3 separate regions of the Homo sapiens genome follow, and regions 1 and 2 are each linked to region 3. Evidence: promoter capture Hi-C in human tissues and cell types (Jung and others, 2019). All regions are on one chromosome and are shown on one strand. The core of a region is centred on a gene start or on the middle of the fragment in contact, and the rest is flanking DNA. Distances in the headings are between cores, read along the strand shown. Region 1 overlaps SLCO1C1 (solute carrier organic anion transporter family member 1C1). Region 2 has its middle 54 kb from the start of SLCO1B3. Region 3 holds the start of SLCO1C1 (solute carrier organic anion transporter family member 1C1).

Region 1 (2,700 bases), core at 93-2,592, 44 kb after region 3:
ACCCACTTTCTGGTTTGCAGATGACCATCTTCACCTTTTATCCTCACATGGCAGAGAGCAGACAGGGAGAGACAGGTCTCCTGTCTCTTCTTATAAGGGCACTAAAATCACATTCATGAGGGCTACACCCTCATGAACTAATTACCTCCTAAATGCTTTACTCCAAATACCATCACATTGAAGGTTAGGATTTCAACATATGAATTTTGGGAAAATATTCAATCCTTAACAGAAAGCAATTGTGAAGGATGTAAAGTACTTCAATCATTAACAGATTCACCCTTCTCAGCACACCTTTCCATTCCTGTCCCAAACAGACTCTTCCTTATCCTTGCTCTCTGAGACTGCTTTCTATTTGTGACTGATTAAATTTGCCTTTATTTGACAATCCTAGAGGGCAGAAAATTAGACCACCCATGTATCTCATTTATTTATATATCCTTATCAACTGGATATGAATACTTAGGCTGTATATCCACAGATATACAGTTAAGTTTGTTAATTTACTCTGTTCATTGTATTATTATTTTGACTTATTTACAGCAGAAAGGATTGGTTTCTAGCAACAATGAATAAGACTACCTACTCATCTGAAACATGTTTTCATGCTTCTCTTTTTTTCTTTTCTTTGCTTTCTTCCTTTGTTATTTTTCTTTCAGCTACTGTTATTTTTGCTCACAGCTGCATGAAGGTTTTTTTGTAATGAGAGCTACCATTTATAAAAGACATTACAAGGAAAGGTTAAAGATTGGTGTTAAAAGAACAAAATTACATTTAAATCTCATGGTCCTGAAATAATTTGCATTATTTTCAGTATTTTCTTCATGTGAGAACTGAGGCACTGAGATACAAAGGACTTGCTTAACTCATTTATCTAGTGAGCGACCAGAATTAAGATTCAAAGGTTTCAACTTGACATTACAAAAAATCTATATTGCCACTCTTTCTAGAAAAGTAAATGCCAGCTTTATTTATGGTCTAAAAACTCACAAACTCTTTTGTGATTAAAAATGATAACATTATATATATGCATTCATAAATAAAATTTACAGAAATAAACTATTGAGGGGTTATACAAATTGTCTCTCTTCAGTCAAAATTTAGTTGAGTTTTATGCACCAGAATTATTTTTTTCTCATAGCCACTGTAAATTATGTCATATCCTCAAATTGTTCCCATTTACTTAACTAAGTTTTATCAAATGCCTAAAATGAGAGTCTATTCCATTCCCCAGTTGCATAATAACAAAGCAGCAGTTTCTGCTTTCATGGAGGTTACATTCTGTTGGGAAAGTATGTTTTAAAAATAAGTAAATACAGGATATCCTGATAGGTAGTAAGAAGCACTGTAAAAAAAAGACATACATTAGAATAAGAAGATGGAGAGATGGGAGTTGTTTTTTTTTGTTTTTTTTTTTAAATGGATAGTCATAGAAGGTCTCTATTAAAACCTCTAAACGGAGAACTAAAGTATGGACGCCAGCTGTGTAATCACCGAAGAGAAGAGCTGCCCGGGCAGAGAAAATAGCAGGGCCGTGAGGCATGGATGAACTTGCCAGGTTTGAGGGGATGTTTGGAAAGGGCAAAATGGGGCCTTTGCAAGGGTCATGTGTGTGGCTTACACAGAAGAAGAGAGGGAAGATCACTGAATGGTGAGATTAGAGTGGCATCCAGGTGCTACATGATGGAGAAAGTGTAAACTGTTATAAGGATGTGGGGTTTCATGCAAGTATGATGAGAAACCACTGGCAGGTTGAGGGTAGTGATGCAGTCTGACTGCCATGTTTAAAGGTTCACTTTACTTACTGGGTGGAAAGCAGATACTAGCTAGATAAGATTGGAAACAAGTTGCGCATAAAGGGAGCATTGTAACAATCTAGGCAAGAAATCATGGTTACTTAGCATTGGAAGTGGTAGCGAAGGAGGTAAGGTATGGTTAGATTAGGCAGGATTTGCTGGGAGATTGTTGTACAGGATTAGTAGTTTGTAGATAGTCATCTGCTCTTTAGATAATGAAATGTTGTATCTATATAGATTTTGCTTTGCTCAATATACTGTAATACAAAAAAATAAAAGAATATTTCCTCATTGTTTACATAATGCATGGCTACGGTAAACATTTTTAACATAACTGTCTTTAACTTTATTTAAATGTTACTGAAATAATTGGACTTTTCCCTATCGTGTTACAGATATTTTACAACTGCACTTGTGTGGGAATTGCAGCTTCTAAATCCGGAAATTCCTCAGGCATAGTGGGAAGATGTCAGAAAGACAATGGATGTCCCCAAATGTTTCTGTATTTCCTTGTAATTTCAGTCATCACATCCTATACTTTATCCCTAGGTGGCATACCTGGATACATATTACTTCTGAGGTGAGTACTGATTCTCCCTATTCTAATTTTAACACAAGACACAATCATCTCGAGCAATGATTTAAATTTTTTTCTGTGGAGTCTATGATTCCTCTTAGTTTTTTCAAGAAACTTGTCCCACATCCTTGTTTCACTTTTATATATATCGCACTTTGGGTATTTATACAAAAATGTGGCTGAATAGAAGTTTTCTTAGTTAAAAATGTTTGCAAACTATTGGTCTAGGAAGCAATGTTAGTTTCTACATCACTAGAGTTGCTTAATAAATACAGTATCCTACTTCTAACGCTGGTGATAATAATAATTAGCATAGGTAACATGCAT
Region 2 (2,700 bases), core at 46-2,545, 61 kb after region 3:
TTCGAATTCCTGAACTCAAGCGATGTGCCTGCTTCAGCCTCCCCAGTAGCTAGGGTTAGGACTACAGGTGCAAACCACTGCTCCTTCAGGTGAAGTGATCATACAGTACAACCAAAATCATTTGCATTCTTTTAATTTTCCCTTTATATATCAATCTTGCAAATATGAATGGGAAAAAAGGAGATAGAAAATTTGGAGTTGGAGAAAGAAGGAAATGTTCTCTAAATGTATATTAACTTTGTCAATTTATTTGAATTGGTGATGCTTGTTTTATATTTTGCTATTTTTGAAAATAAAGACTTTTTAATTTTTATTTCCAGTTTTGCTTCCAGCAGGCCTACTTCAGACCTGCTGCTCCCCTGCTAACTTGTGAGCAAGAATCCTTTTTGTCATCCCTGTATGAATCTTACCCATAATAAATATTTACTGATTGGGGTGAGGAGTACACTTGTCAAGAGATTTCTTTGTGGAGAAATAATTTAACTTCAAATTCTTCATCCTGCCTCCTACATGCTCTTTATTTTTCAAGGCTTTTTATCACAATATCTTGAAAAATAACTTCTTTACAAGTAAATTTCCAAACAGAAGAGTTTCCAATTTATTCTTGAATAACTTGAAAAATAAAAAACACAAAGGATGAATAAATGATGATCTTCTTATGAAAGAACTGAAGGTCAATTTAAAGGAAGCGTATTTTTATGCACAACCATTAATTTTAAAGTGGAATTACATACATTAAACTCAGCTGTATAACAAATGAGGGTATCATTTAGTGGGAAATTGAATTTACTAAGAGGAACCCTCATATTTTAGATAAGTAAACTCATTTGACAGAGGTAAGCAGACTTTTTATGCCTCAGAAAGCACAATTAGTTCTTTATTTTTTAATTAAACCAAACTCCTTTTCAGAAGTCAAGGAAATTCCCTCAGTTCCAAGACCAAACTTTTGAGGTAGAGCTGTGATTGATGTGTAGGATCCCACAATTGCTCCAAGTTCAATGGCAACATTATTCTCTTATTTTGCAGCCATGGCCCCTAAAGGTGACCAGCATCCCCACTGAACATCTGATTCACTATAACCTTCAGACAGGTAAAGCTACAGCAATGTCATTTTATAGGTGGAGTGACTTAAATTGGATTAAATGACTTCCCCAATGTGGGTGTGTGCAAGCCAATGCTGGGTTCTTTCATTACATCATGATTTCTATTAAAAACTAAAAACAATCTGAAGCCTCTAAAAACTGCTGGAAGAAATGTGACCATTAGCATTTATGGAATTTACACTTAAATATTACATACCTATACTTGTACATAAAGAGAGATTCAAGAGATAAATTGACATATACTTGAGACTTGACATATACTTGATAATAATATATTCACTATTATATTAAATGAAACAATTTATATTAAGTGCCCTCTGTATGTGTGCTAAATGCCTTAGACATTCTCAATTTTAAAGATTAAAATAGCTTTATGTGTAAGGTATTGTTACTGATATTTTCAGATAAACAAACTGAGGCTTAAAGAGTTAGTGATTTGTCCAAAGCCAGTGAGTTTTAGCAGTTGGTGGAGCAAAGACTTAAACTGGAGTTTATCAGCTTCAAAAAGCCATGTTGTGCCTGCATTAATCTATATCCCAAATCACTGGCTTTCACTAACTCTGCTAAAAATCAAAATTTGGACATCGCAATTAGAAAAGTTTTAACACACTAAAACATATACATCGTTTAAAAAATGAAAAAAAAAATTGAAATGAGAAGTAATAGTCCTCTAGCCCACCTTGACTTCTATTCCTCAAAGACCTCTAACCCACCTCTAGCCCACCTTGACTTCTATTCCTCAAAGGCAACAACTGACTACTCACTAGTTTAGTTTGTTGGCTTTTCTTTTCCTGTTTCTTTTTTAAAATGTTTATTTTTAGAAACAAGGGTCTCACTATGTTGCCTTTGAACTCCTGGGCTGAAGCCATGCTCCTGCCTCAGCCCCCCAAATAGTTAGGACTACAGGTGTGAGCCACTGTGCCTGGCTTGTTTGTTGGTTTTTTCGATGGTCACTTTCATATCTTTAAATGTATACTCATATGACTACTCTTGATTTACCAACTTTAGGCAATGTCTGTTGACTGTCTACTCTGATAGATTGGTACTAATGTCACTCACAAATCCTCCATTGTTCTTCTGTTACCTGTACATAGTAAGGTCACTAAGTACAGAGGTCACTATGTGCATTTTGCAAAATGAAAAACTTAGAACTTCCTAACTTCTCTCCAGGTCTTCAAACCCTCTTCCATCTCCCTCTTTATGCTAACTGTACCTTTACTTTTACATTGTTGAGAACAACATTTTTAGTCAGCTCTGTAGTCATACTAATCTAGGAAAGGCCTGAATAATCACCATGAAGATCAACGCCATCCACTCTCCATGGTATGAAAGCTCAGCACTTGAAAACAGAATGAGAGAGGGTAAAAAAAAAAAAAAAAAAAAAAAAAAAAAAAAAAAAAAATTGAGGACCTACTACGTATCAGGCATTAGAGTCATATAACATTTAAATATTAATGTGTAATATTAAAATGTGTTTTCTGTCCAAATAATTTTGGAATATGTTGAGTTAATGATAACACTTATAACTGCAGAATCATAGATTCTTTATTATGATGGTGTACATTGTTGAACTTCTGCAGGGGATGATTATCTCACA
Region 3 (2,772 bases), core at 102-2,601:
CAGAGGTGAGTGGTTGTGATAGAGATTGCATGGTCCTACAAAACCTAAAATATTTCTTATTTGTCCCTTTATAGAAGTTTGTTAACTCCCTCATCTAGAGTTTGGAAATGGGAATGAAAGGCTGAAGTAGGCTACAATCCAATGCAAGGTTGCACATAAGAAGCTCTGAATAAGTGTAAACATTATGTGCATTCAAAACAGTAACATTAACTGTGGACTCTGGAAATAAGAAAAGGAATCGTGTTGGAGAGTGAGACTGAGCCAGTTGGGAATAGACAAAATTACATTCTCAAGGGAGAATTTCATTTCTTGGTGAGGAAAATTATGCCCTTTGGGCTGGTAAATACTGTCTCCTCTTGAATAAAACAGTGGTCTGGCCACCTGTTAGACACTGAGAAGTCTAGACTAACACTCAATGTATTCGGATGTTTGCTCACTATTTCCGATGGAAAAGTCTGGTTTGATTGTTAAAGTAAAATATTTGGCCTTTCAGAGTGTGAAAACACCATTGCTTCATTGCAAGGTTTAATATAAACCCATTTTTCTTGCATTTTCTTTTCTTTCTTTTGTAGTAAAATGTGCTTGAATAATATTAACTATTCTGACCATTATGTGAACTAAATATATATATATATAAAATGATGATACCTTCCGCTCATTTGCAATGTGCTTTTGAATACATTATATAATTTAATCCTTAAAACAGCCCTATAAATCTGTTTTTTTTTTTTTTAAACAAAAAAATTCTGCTTTACAAAGGAAGAAGTTGAGACTCAGTAAAATTAAGTGACCATCCCAGAGTCTCAGCCACTTAAGAGTAGGGTGAATCTTGGATAATTCTGGTAGCAAATTTATTTATTGGTAGAAAATAAATGCAAACTACTACTGCTTAAGATCCTCTAAAGTTTTTCTCTTGGAAAAAGAATGTATTAGAATTGTGGACTTTCTCAGTGCAAGGATTTATTTATCCTTGGAATTAGGCAGAATAAACAATTGAATGCCAAAAATTCAACGTGTTTCTTTTCTGTTTTCAAAACTCATAGAAATTGTAAATATGAGCAACTGATCATGTCTCTGAGAATTAACTCTTTTTGTACAGAGCGCTGCAGAGCTTTGATTGTGACCTGATACTTGGTCCTTAAAGATTCTAGAACACCAATGGAAAAGAAAACCATGTAGCAAATTAGCCCAAGAACCGTTAAAGACAAAACAAAACAAACCAAAACCAAAACACACAAACAAAGAAAACACAAGGATCCCAGTGATGTCCCTAAGGAATAGTTGGCTTAAAAACTTTCTGGAAGGAGGAGGGGTCTCTGTTATAAACTTCCGCCCTCCTCTGGCTTCTGTTCCTTACCCTCTGCCCCCTGCGGAGTTGTGTTTTCTGGGAATCAGCAAGTAAGATCACAAGTGGTCTTTTCTTTTATTCACTCTCTCCCATAAAGAAAGCTTTATCACGTGTGGCCTTAAACTTGCAGCAAATTGCAAAGAAATGGCTCAAAAGCTTCAGCTCTTTCTGTGCCCTGGGAGCTGAGATGCACGTCAGTGGCCTTGCCAGCGTGGCCAATTCTCTGCTGACTGCCAGAAAAAAGAGGCCAGGAAGAAAGAGGAAAGAGAAGAGATCGCTCAGGGGTGAGACCATGCCCTTCATCTTTTCTTTTCCCTAATCTCCTCTGCTTGTGTCCACCCACACTCTCCCCACCTGGCAAAATTGTTCAAAATTGCTGTGGAGTTTACCTCAGTTTCCTCTTTCAGTCTGTGGTGTGTGGTCCATCCTCTTGCTGAGCACATTGAAAGGAACTGGCTATCTTTGATCTCTTCCTCCAGGTAAGACTTGGTTCTCTCATTTTATATTTTGTGACTAATACATCAGATTCTTATGGGAGATTAACCCTTAATTTCTGTGCGATTTATGTTTTATCCATAAAAATATCAGTGAAAGGTGATGATCCCCTCATTAGTTTGATGGAAATAAGAGAGAAGATTGGTTAAAGAAATCAGATAAACTCAAATTTGAGTTCAAATTTTGAGTCTCATGCTTATAAATTGTTTAGCTTTTGACAAGTCACTTAATTGCTTTGGGCCATCTAATTTAAAAAATGGAATTCTAATATTACGTTTGTTGGGTTGTTTTAAGGATTAGAAAAAGTACGTACATTACTCAACACAAAAATAGTACTTATTAAATCTGAATCTGACACAGATAATTTGTATTAGGTGAGAAATTAGTTTCTAAACAACACACACTCCTCTGCAGCAAGTGCCGTGAGGCTATTTTTTAGTTTGTCTGAAGGGAGGCATCCTGGTGTCCAGAAGTCAAGCCAGGACAGAGGTTTTCCTCACAGGAGATGGCCAAGAGAAGAGAGGGAGGAGCGTGGTTGCCTTTAGGACTTTCTCTGTGGCAGTCCTTGGGGACTGATTGCTGGACAGAGTCCGAGTCAGTTGCAGAGCAGAGGGGTTGAGTACATCTGCGGGATCTAACTACAACCTTCCTAAGCCACTTGCTCTCTCCATTTAAAATCTGGAGGGCTGATTTTGAAACTAATGAGGACTGATTATTCAATGTTTTTGAACCAAAGGAAGAGAAACTGCTTGGCTTGTTTTTCTTTGGCCTCCAGAATAAGTTATGCTCCAAACCCAGGGTATTGGATGAAAACTGTCGTATGTCTTTTCCTGGAAGAATCTATTCAAGTGGCCAGAGATCAATTAAGGATTTGCCAAATGCAAATAATTCTGAATAACTGTGTACTCTTGCTCTACTTCTGCAGTTGC

Evidence for each region. Contacts are between HindIII fragments. The study calls those that stand out against the background at their distance.
Region 1: a contact is called between a fragment that was not itself captured here and the fragment with the promoter of SLCO1C1 in region 3, in 2 of the 25 tissues and cell types used here (liver and mesendoderm cells).
Region 2: a fragment that was not itself captured here is called in contact with the fragment with the promoter of SLCO1C1 in region 3 in 4 of the 25 tissues and cell types used here (dorsolateral prefrontal cortex, hippocampus, mesendoderm cells and 1 more).

What each region holds. Positions count from the first base shown.
Region 1 is chr12:20,737,993-20,740,692 of GRCh38, forward strand. It overlaps SLCO1C1 (solute carrier organic anion transporter family member 1C1), which reads left to right. Exons shown (of 15, transcript NM_017435.5): 12 at 2,192-2,376. Among named protein-coding and RNA genes, the nearest start is that of SLCO1C1, 44 kb to the left of the region's middle. The HindIII fragment of the contact is 7,849 bases long and covers 1-2,700 here.
Region 2 is chr12:20,754,866-20,757,565 of GRCh38, forward strand. No RefSeq gene overlaps it. Among named protein-coding and RNA genes, the nearest start is that of SLCO1B3, 54 kb to the right of the region's middle. The HindIII fragment of the contact is 7,970 bases long and covers 1-2,700 here.
Region 3 is chr12:20,693,981-20,696,752 of GRCh38, forward strand. It overlaps SLCO1C1 (solute carrier organic anion transporter family member 1C1), which reads left to right and starts at 1,352. Exons shown (of 15, transcript NM_017435.5): 1 at 1,352-1,827. The HindIII fragment of the contact is 14,433 bases long and covers 1-2,772 here.